Linked DNA regions of Homo sapiens: region 1 is linked to region 2. The links are contacts of gene promoters, found by promoter capture Hi-C in blood cells and fetal thymus (Javierre and others, 2016). All regions are on one chromosome and are shown on one strand. Each heading gives the region's core, a stretch centred on a gene start or on the middle of the fragment in contact. The rest is flanking DNA. Distances are from core to core; before and after follow the strand shown. Region 1 overlaps NUSAP1 (nucleolar and spindle associated protein 1). Region 2 holds the start of BUB1B-PAK6 (BUB1B-PAK6 readthrough).

The links. The method cuts DNA at HindIII sites, captures the fragments that hold promoters and counts their contacts. A CHiCAGO score of 5 or more calls a contact.
Region 1: a fragment that was not itself captured here is called in contact with the fragment with the promoter of BUB1B-PAK6 in region 2 in 1 of 17 cell types (erythroblasts); the score reaches 6.1 in erythroblasts.

What each region holds. Positions count from the first base shown.
Region 1 is chr15:41,357,395-41,361,531 of GRCh38, forward strand. NUSAP1 (nucleolar and spindle associated protein 1) reads left to right here. Exons shown (of 11, transcript NM_016359.5): 6 at 755-864. Among named protein-coding and RNA genes, the nearest start is that of NUSAP1, 27 kb to the left of the region's middle. The HindIII fragment of the contact is 1,388 bases long and covers 764-2,151 here.
Region 2 is chr15:40,216,149-40,220,309 of GRCh38, forward strand. It overlaps BUB1B-PAK6 (BUB1B-PAK6 readthrough), which reads left to right and starts at 1,280. Exons shown (of 10, transcript NM_001128629.3): 1 at 1,280-1,519. It overlaps BUB1B (BUB1 mitotic checkpoint serine/threonine kinase B), which reads left to right. Exons shown (of 23, transcript NM_001211.6): 21 at 1,348-1,519; 22 at 2,308-2,414. The region is part of intron 1 of LOC107984763 (a long non-coding RNA gene); the gene reads right to left. The HindIII fragment of the contact is 293 bases long and covers 1,091-1,383 here.

The sequences.
Region 1 (4,137 bases), core at 208-2,707, 1.1 Mb after region 2:
CAAGAAGAATATGAGACAGAGACCATACCATATGTGGCCATAAAGCCTAAAATACTTTTTTTTTTTGAGACGAAGTTTTGCTCTTGTTGCCCAGGCTGGAGTGCAATGGCGCAATCTAGGCTCACTGCAACCTCCACCTCCCGGGTTCAAGCGATTCTCCTGCCTCAGTGTCCCGAGTAGCTGGGATTACAGGCGTGCGCCACCACACCTGGCTAATTTTTGTATTTTTAGTAGAGATGGGGTTTCTCCATGTTGGTCAGGCTGGTCTCGAACTCCTGACCTCAGGTGATCTGACCGCTTTGGCTTCCCAAAGTGCTGAGATTACAGGTGTTGAGCCACCATGACCAGCCAAGTCTTAAATACTTTTATCTAGCCCTTTATAGAATAAATTTGTCAGTCCTTGACATACAGCATTATAAAATATCAAATTCATTATTAAATAAAGACCACTTGTGACTAATTGGTAGGGGAGAAGATAAATCTTCTACTCTAATCCTCTGGATTAAACCAAGATGTCAATTTAGTGAAATTTGTCAGTGGGGAGATGGTGAATGTTTGATAGTTTATAAGATGAATGTGCTTTGCCCCTGAGTTTCCAAAAACTAAGTATTTTGAAATTAATGTTTTAGCAAAAATTATATTGAAGTTGAATGTCAGGGATGCAAAGAAGAGAATAAGTGTTAACAGAAAAACACAGAGAAGATAAATAAATGGATTTTGTTTTGTTATTAATTTTTATATTGGAACATTCTAGACTTTAAGAAGCTTCATGAAGCTCATTTTAAGGAAATGGAGTCCATTGATCAATATATTGAGAGAAAAAAGAAACATTTTGAAGAACACAATTCCATGAATGAACTGAAGGTATGTAGATAAAATTATGTTCTTAATGGAACTAAACTGTTTGATTATAATTTTGAAACTATATAACACCGTGGTTACAACAACTGGCTGTCACTCTACCAGTAGATTTGTTTGAATTTAATATATCTTTATCTAAAACTTGCTTTCCCCTACCCTGAGAATTTTCAAAGTCCTCTAGATAAAACAGTGAATCCATGGCCAAGCGCAGTGGCTCATGCCTGTAATCCCCGCACTTTGGGAGGCCAAGGCAAGTGGATTACCTCAGGTCAGGAGTTCAAGGCCAGCCTGGGCAACATGGTGAAACCCTGTCTCTACAAAAAATACAGAAAATTAGTAGGGGGTGGCACATGGCTGTAATCCCATCTACTCAGGAGGCTGAGGCAGGAGAATCACTTGAACCAGGAGGCCAACATTGCAGTGAGCTGAGATCGCGCCACTGCACTCCAGCCTGGGTGACAGAGTGAGACTCCGTCTCAAAAAAAAAGAAAACAGTGAATCCTGACTATGAGAAACTATTTCCAAAATGGCAATGTCATTCTACTTTCCATATTCAGATGTTTTGCCTATTACTTTCATTGATGATGAACCAACTTATGGCTGAAGCCATCTTCTTTCCCTCGTCCCTTATGTAAAGGAAAATGGGTGATTAATAGTGGCAAACCTGAAGGGTTCCTGTGGTAACAGCTCCCTCGAGGGCTTTCAGTCCAGGTTCCACAGGACTCAAAGCCTCCTCAAGTAAGAGAAGGTGATAAAGTCAACTCTGAGGCTGAGTTAGCAAAGTAGTGAGTAACATTCTAGCAAGTTGATGTTATTGGTATCTGGTGTTAAGGCAGTGCCGAATGGAGGGCAGGAAACACATTTTTAAATATTTATGGATTTATGTATTTTTCTCATAAAGACAGGGTCTCCCTATGATTCCCAGGCTCTCCTTGAACGCCTAGGCTCAAGTGATCCTCCCACCTCAGCCTCCCAAAGTGCTGGGATTACAGGTGTGAGCCACCAGATTATATTTATTTCTATTCGCTGTATTTAATTCTTAACCCCATGTTTATTTTACATAACTTCCCTATTTCTCAAAAAGAATTTAAGGCCTATTCTCAAAATAATGTAAGTTTATGGTATTAAATATAAAATAGTATAGTCAATTTAAAAGCGGCAGAAAATTAGCACTGTTAGTAGGTACAGTATTTACTACCATCAGTCACTCAGCTGAGTTTAAGTTTTCTGGCAGCTAGGGCCAAGAGGAAAACTCACTGGGTGATAAATTGTAAATAATTTAAGTACTTAAGCTTCTTGGTGAGAAGCTTAATTGAAATAATAAACATTCATTTTAACGATGTAAAACCACTGTTACAACCATTTTTTTTCTTTTCTTTTCTTTTTTTTTTTTGAGACAGAGTTTCGCTCTTGTTGCCCAGACTGGAGGGCAATGGTACAGTCTCAGCTCACTGCAACCTCTGCCTCCCTGATTCAAGTGATTTTCCTGCCTTTAGCCTCCCCAGTAGCTGAGATTACAGGCGCCCACCACCACACCCAGCTAATTTTTTTATTTTTAGTAGAGACGGGTTTTCACCATGTTGGCCAGGCTGGTCTTGAACTCCTGACCTCAGGTGATCAACCCACCTCCCAAAGTGCTGGTATTACATGCATGAGCCATTGCTCCCATCCTCACTGTTACCACATTTGAAGGCACTGTTTGTCAAACTTTTTTTTTTTTTGAGACTCAGTCTCACTCTGTCACCCAGGCTGGAGTGCAATGGTGCGATCTTGCCTCACTGGAACCTCTGCTTCCCGGATGCAGCAGATTATTTTGCCTCAGCCTCCCAAGTAGTTGGGATTACAGGTGCCCACCACCACACCCAGCTAATATTTGTATTTGTAATTTTATTTATTTTTTTTAGATGGAGTCACATTGTGTTGCCCAGGCTGGAGTGCAGTGACACAATATTGGCTCATTGCAACCTCCACCTCCTGGATTCAAGTGATTCTCCCACCTCAGCCTCCCAAGTACCTGGGATTACAGGCAACCACCACCACACCCGGCTAATTTTTGTTTGTTTGTTTGTTTGTTTGTTTTGACACAGTTTCACTCTTCTTGCCCAGACTGGAGTGCAATGGCGTGATCTTGGCTCACCACAACTTCCACCTCCCAGGTTCAAGCAATTCTCCTGCCTCAGCCTCCTGAGTAGCTGGGATTATAGGTGCCTGCCACCACGCCTGGCTAATTTTTTGTATTTTTAGTAGAGACGGGGTTTCACTATGTTGGCCAGGCTAGTCTTGAACTCCTGACCTTGTGATCCACCTGCCTCAGCCTCCCAAAGTGCTGGGATCACAGGCATAAGCCACGGCGCCCAGCCCCTGCTAATTTTTATATTTTCAGTAAAGATGGGGTTTCACCATGTTGGCCAGGCTGGTCTCGATCTCCTGACTTCAGGTGATCCACCCACCTCAGCCTCCCAAAGTGCTGGGATTACAGGCGTGAGCCACCACTCCTGTCCTCACTGTTACCACATTTGAAGGCACTGTTTATCCATCTTTTTTTTTTTTTTTTTTTTGCGATGAGTCTCACTGTGTCACTCAGGCTGGAGTGCAGTGGTGCGATCTTGGCTCACTGCAACCTGCACCTCCCGGGTTCGACAGATCTTGCCAGCATGGCAAAACCCTGTCTCTACTAAAAATACAAAAATTACCTGGCCATGGTGGTGGGTGCCTGTACTCCCAGCTACTCAGGAAGCTGAGACAGGAGAATCGCTTGAACCCAGGAGGTGGAGGTTGCAGTGCATGGAGGTCACACCACTGCACTCCAGCCTGGGCAACAGACCAAGACTCCATCTCAAAAAACAAAAAAAATAGGCCAGGGCGTGGTGGCTCACACCTGTAATCCCAGTACTTTGGGAAGCTGAGGCAGGCGGATCACCTGAGGTCAGGGGTTTGAGACCAGCCTGACCAACATGGAGAAACCCCATCTTTACTAAAAATACAAAATTATCTTGGCATGGTGGCGCATGTCTGTAATCCCAGCTACTCGGGAGGCTGAGGCAGGAGAATTGCTTGAACCCGGGAGGCAGAGGTTGCGGTGAGCCGAGACCATGCCATTGCACTCCAGCCTGGGCAACAAGAGTGAAACTCCATCTCAAAAAAAAAATAATAATAATTTAAGTTAATTTAAAAAAATGTTTCAGCCAGACACAGTGGCTCACACCTGTCAATCCACAACTTTGGGAGGGTTAGGCCGAAGGATCACTTGAGCCCCAGTGTTGAAGACCAACCTGG
Region 2 (4,161 bases), core at 30-2,529:
TACAATTACACTGGGCATGGTGACTCACATCTGTAATCCCAGCACTTTGGGAGACCAAGGCAGAGGATCACTTGAGCCTAGGAGTTCAAGACCAGTCTGGGCAATATAATGAGACCTCATCTCTACAAAAAATTAAGAAATTAGCCAGGCATGGTGGCACACACCAGTAGTCCCAGCTACTCGGGAGGCTGAGATGGGAGGATCGCTTGAACCTAGGAGGCAGAGACTGCACTGAGCTGAGATCGCACCACTGTACTCCAGCCTCAGTGACAAGAGTGTAGACCTTGTCTAAGAAACCAAACAAAACACACACATGCACACACTTTACATATATATATAAAATACATATGTATATTTTATATATATCAGAATCCACGATCCCTATAACTATATATATACTATATATATATATATATATATATATTTTTTTTTTTTTTTAATTATAGTATAGTTTTATGGTGGCCAAAAAAGGTTGGCTCTTGTGCCAAGGAAAAATGAGAGCAATTATCAATTTTAAAGTAAAATACATAGATCATTCTGTGCCGTGGAGGTATGTAATTGGAGTAGTTAAAGACTGTATTTAGGAATATTGCACCAATATCAGGAGTTTGAGGGAATTAATTGAGAAAAACAGACAAAAGGAACACATGAAAACCCACTCTTTTCATTTATAAACAGTTCCTATGTCCCCTTGGAGAATAGCATTATTGCATAGGATAGATAAACCCAAGGAAAACAAAATTAATTGATAATTAATTAGTATTATAAAGATTTTTTTAGTAAATAACTGGAATTACAAGTAAGAGTAAGATAAAATATGGTGTTTTACAAGAAATTTTACAATACAGATAGGACTTTATAAAACAGACTTGCATTGTTTTCCATTAAACTCTGGAAGGAAGAATCTAAACAATACTTGGAAAGCCTATCTGGAATAGTAAACAAGAAAGGCTATGACACCTATAAAATTTTAATTTCCTCCATCATAATTCCTGTCAGTGTATAAATCATTGCAATTGTATGTGTTAATGTGTACAGTACAGGGAAGAAGCCTGTGCTCTGCTTCCATACTTACTTTATATAATATGGAAGCTTGATAAATGTTTAATGGTGGCCATGCACCGTGATTGAAATATACTTTGTGTCACCAAAGTGGTGACATTCCTTCCGCATTGGGTGGACACTGCCACTGCTCTGTCTTACAGGTGCATTTTCAAAATTAACCACTGGAGGGAGTTGTTGGCATAGCTAAGATGTACCCAAGGTACCTTTTTTTTTTAAAGACCAGCTATGCAGCTTCTTTCATGGCCTATTTTTATTATCTCCTTCTCTTAAATCTGGGCTCAGAATCCACGATCCCTATGATTGTAACAAGAACAATCAAGCTTTGAAGATAGTGGACTTTTCCTACAGTGTTGACCTTAGGGTGCAGCTGGATGTTTTTACCCTCAGCGGCTTTCGGACTGTACAGATCCTGGAAGGACAAAAGATCCTGGCTAACTGTTCTTCTCCCTACCAGGTAAGTGTAAAACAAGCCTGAGCAAATATGGAGAGGGTTTCTTAATCTCTTTATTATCTAGATAAGCTATAAAAGCTACTGTTTACTGATACCGACTCCTAGAATAGATGACCTAGTTTTCAAATATCACCAAGTCAAGTAAAATGTAACATTTTTGTGTTACAGCATTGAAGAATATACACATACATGTGCAAACACATGACTAACTCTGTAACCGAGTGCCAGGGCCACTCCTACTGCCTACCACCCATGTAATCTTTTATAAGTCATTTTCTGTGATCTTCTCTGTAAAATAGGGATAACAGTCTCTGCTATGTGTTTATCAGAATTGTTATGAGGAGTAAATGAAGTAATGTATATAAAAAGAACATTAGCACAAATGTAAAGTCTTTTGTATGGTGGCATTATATGCAGAAATTCCTTCTAACTCAGCTTTAGACATAAGACATTTGCTGATTGAATATGTAGCACAAACCTGAACTAATCATGTGGACCCCATTTAGATCACAGCTGGAGTTCATGCAAACTCAGTAGGTCTACAAATTTGAATGTGATAGTCCAAATATTTCATCTTTTGTTCTTAAGGATAATTCCTAGAATTGGCTCTATTGATCACTTCTTTGGAGAGCTTCTCCCTTTACTGTAAGGGTGAGGAACAGTCTACTAAAATGTATGTCATAAAATAAACTTAGTTAAGCACTGTAATACCTTTCAACTTCCTACCGAAATAAGCTGCCATGGTAGAGGCAGAGAATTATTTTAGCTGATGGTGCTTTTTGTGATTTCAGGTAGACCTGTTTGGTATAGCAGATTTAGCACATTTACTATTGTTCAAGGAACACCTACAGGTCTTCTGGGATGGGTCCTTCTGGAAACTTAGCCAAAATATTTCTGAGTAAGTATTGATGAATGTCAGGGTCTCTGCCTGTCCCAATAATTTTCTGTTTCTCTTGGGTGCTATCTCTGCTTTGGCAGCCTTAGTTTTTTAATCCAAATGCCATGGTTCCAGTAGTTTCAGCCAGTTTTCATTAGAGTATCAGCAGAGCAGCTAGTGCAGGAAAAAGGAACTGCTTACTAAAAATAAGATTCAAAACTATTCAGACTTCAGGACATCATTCTGAATCTAGCTGTATCTTCCAGACTACAGCTATAGTATGGAAGCTTCCCTGTTTAGATATGTGAAAAGAAGCATTTCATGAGAATAATTTTCTAACTAATTGGTGTTAGCCTTAAATTCCTTTTTCTTTATTTATTTATTTTTTGAGACGGAGTCTCGCTCTGTTGCCCAGGCTGGAGTGCAGTGGCATGATCTCGGCTCACTGCAACCTCTGCCTCCCAGGTTCAAGTGATTCTCCTGCTTCAGCCTCCTGAGTAGCTGGGATTACAGGCGTGCGCCACCATGCCTGGCTCATTTTTGTATTTTTAGTAGAGATGCGGTTTCACTACGTTGGCCAGGCTGATCTCGAACTCCTGACCTTGTGATCCGCCCGCCTCGGCCTCCCAAAGTGCTAGGATTACAGGTGTGAGCCACCGTGTCTGGCCTAAATTCCTTTTTAATAGCAATTATTACCAAAAGTTAATAAGCATCCTTTGAAAAGACTTACATTTCTAAACTATATGCTAATTTTAGGCTATTTTTTATTTAATAAGTGGATAGAACCAAACCAGATAACTGACTCTCCTGGAGAAGAAGTAAGTGGTCTCTTAATAAGCACTGCTTGGTCTCAGAACCTTAGTACTCCCTCAAGCCTGCTCATAAAACTTACTAAGTCAGCCGGGCATGGTGGCTCACACCTGTAATCACAGCACTTTGGGAGGCCGAGGCAGATTACCTGAGGTCAGGAGTTTGAGAGCAGCCTGGGCAACATGGCGAAACCTTGTCTCTACTCAAAATACAAGAAAATTAGCTGGGTGTGGTGGCACATGCCTGTAATCCTAGCTACTTGGGAAGCTGAGGCACGGGAATCACTTGAACCTGGGAGGCAGAGGTTGCAGTGAGCTGAGATCGCGCCACTGCACTCCACCCAGGGCAACAGAGTGAGACTCCGTCTCAAAAAAAACTAAGTATCTACGTTCCACTTTAGCTTATCTTAGCAAATAAGTTCCCAGCCTGTCACCTATTGTTATATTCTTTGGTTAAAAAAAAAAATGAGTGTTGAAGATTTAATGCCCCTTCTCTATTTTCATCTTTGAATAATTGAATTGTACTTTTCTCTTCATTTAATTCAGAACTTGGCCAGTGTTGTCTCTTACATGAACTTTTAAAAATAGGCTTGAAATACAATGTAAGACATATAGGATGGATATAGGCATGTCCACTTGGCTATGGTCCAGGCAGGTCTGGCTAACACAAGCAGAAACAAGTGGGGTCAGTTGGGGTTTCCTAACAGCCCTGCCTTATCTAATAAGGGAAGTTTCTCTGATCAAAAGAAAATAATAAGAAGCAAAGGTACAAACATATTAAGCAGTAGTTAGTTTAGTCAAGCTTACGATTATCAGAGAATTGTAAAGAAGATCCACTACTGGGGTAGGAGAAAGGAGCTGTAGCCTTTTTAATGACCTAGACTCTAGGAAAGTTAGAGGAAATAAAATTCCTTTTTCTTCTATTTGTAGAAGAAAAGTGCTATGTCTTAGTACACAGA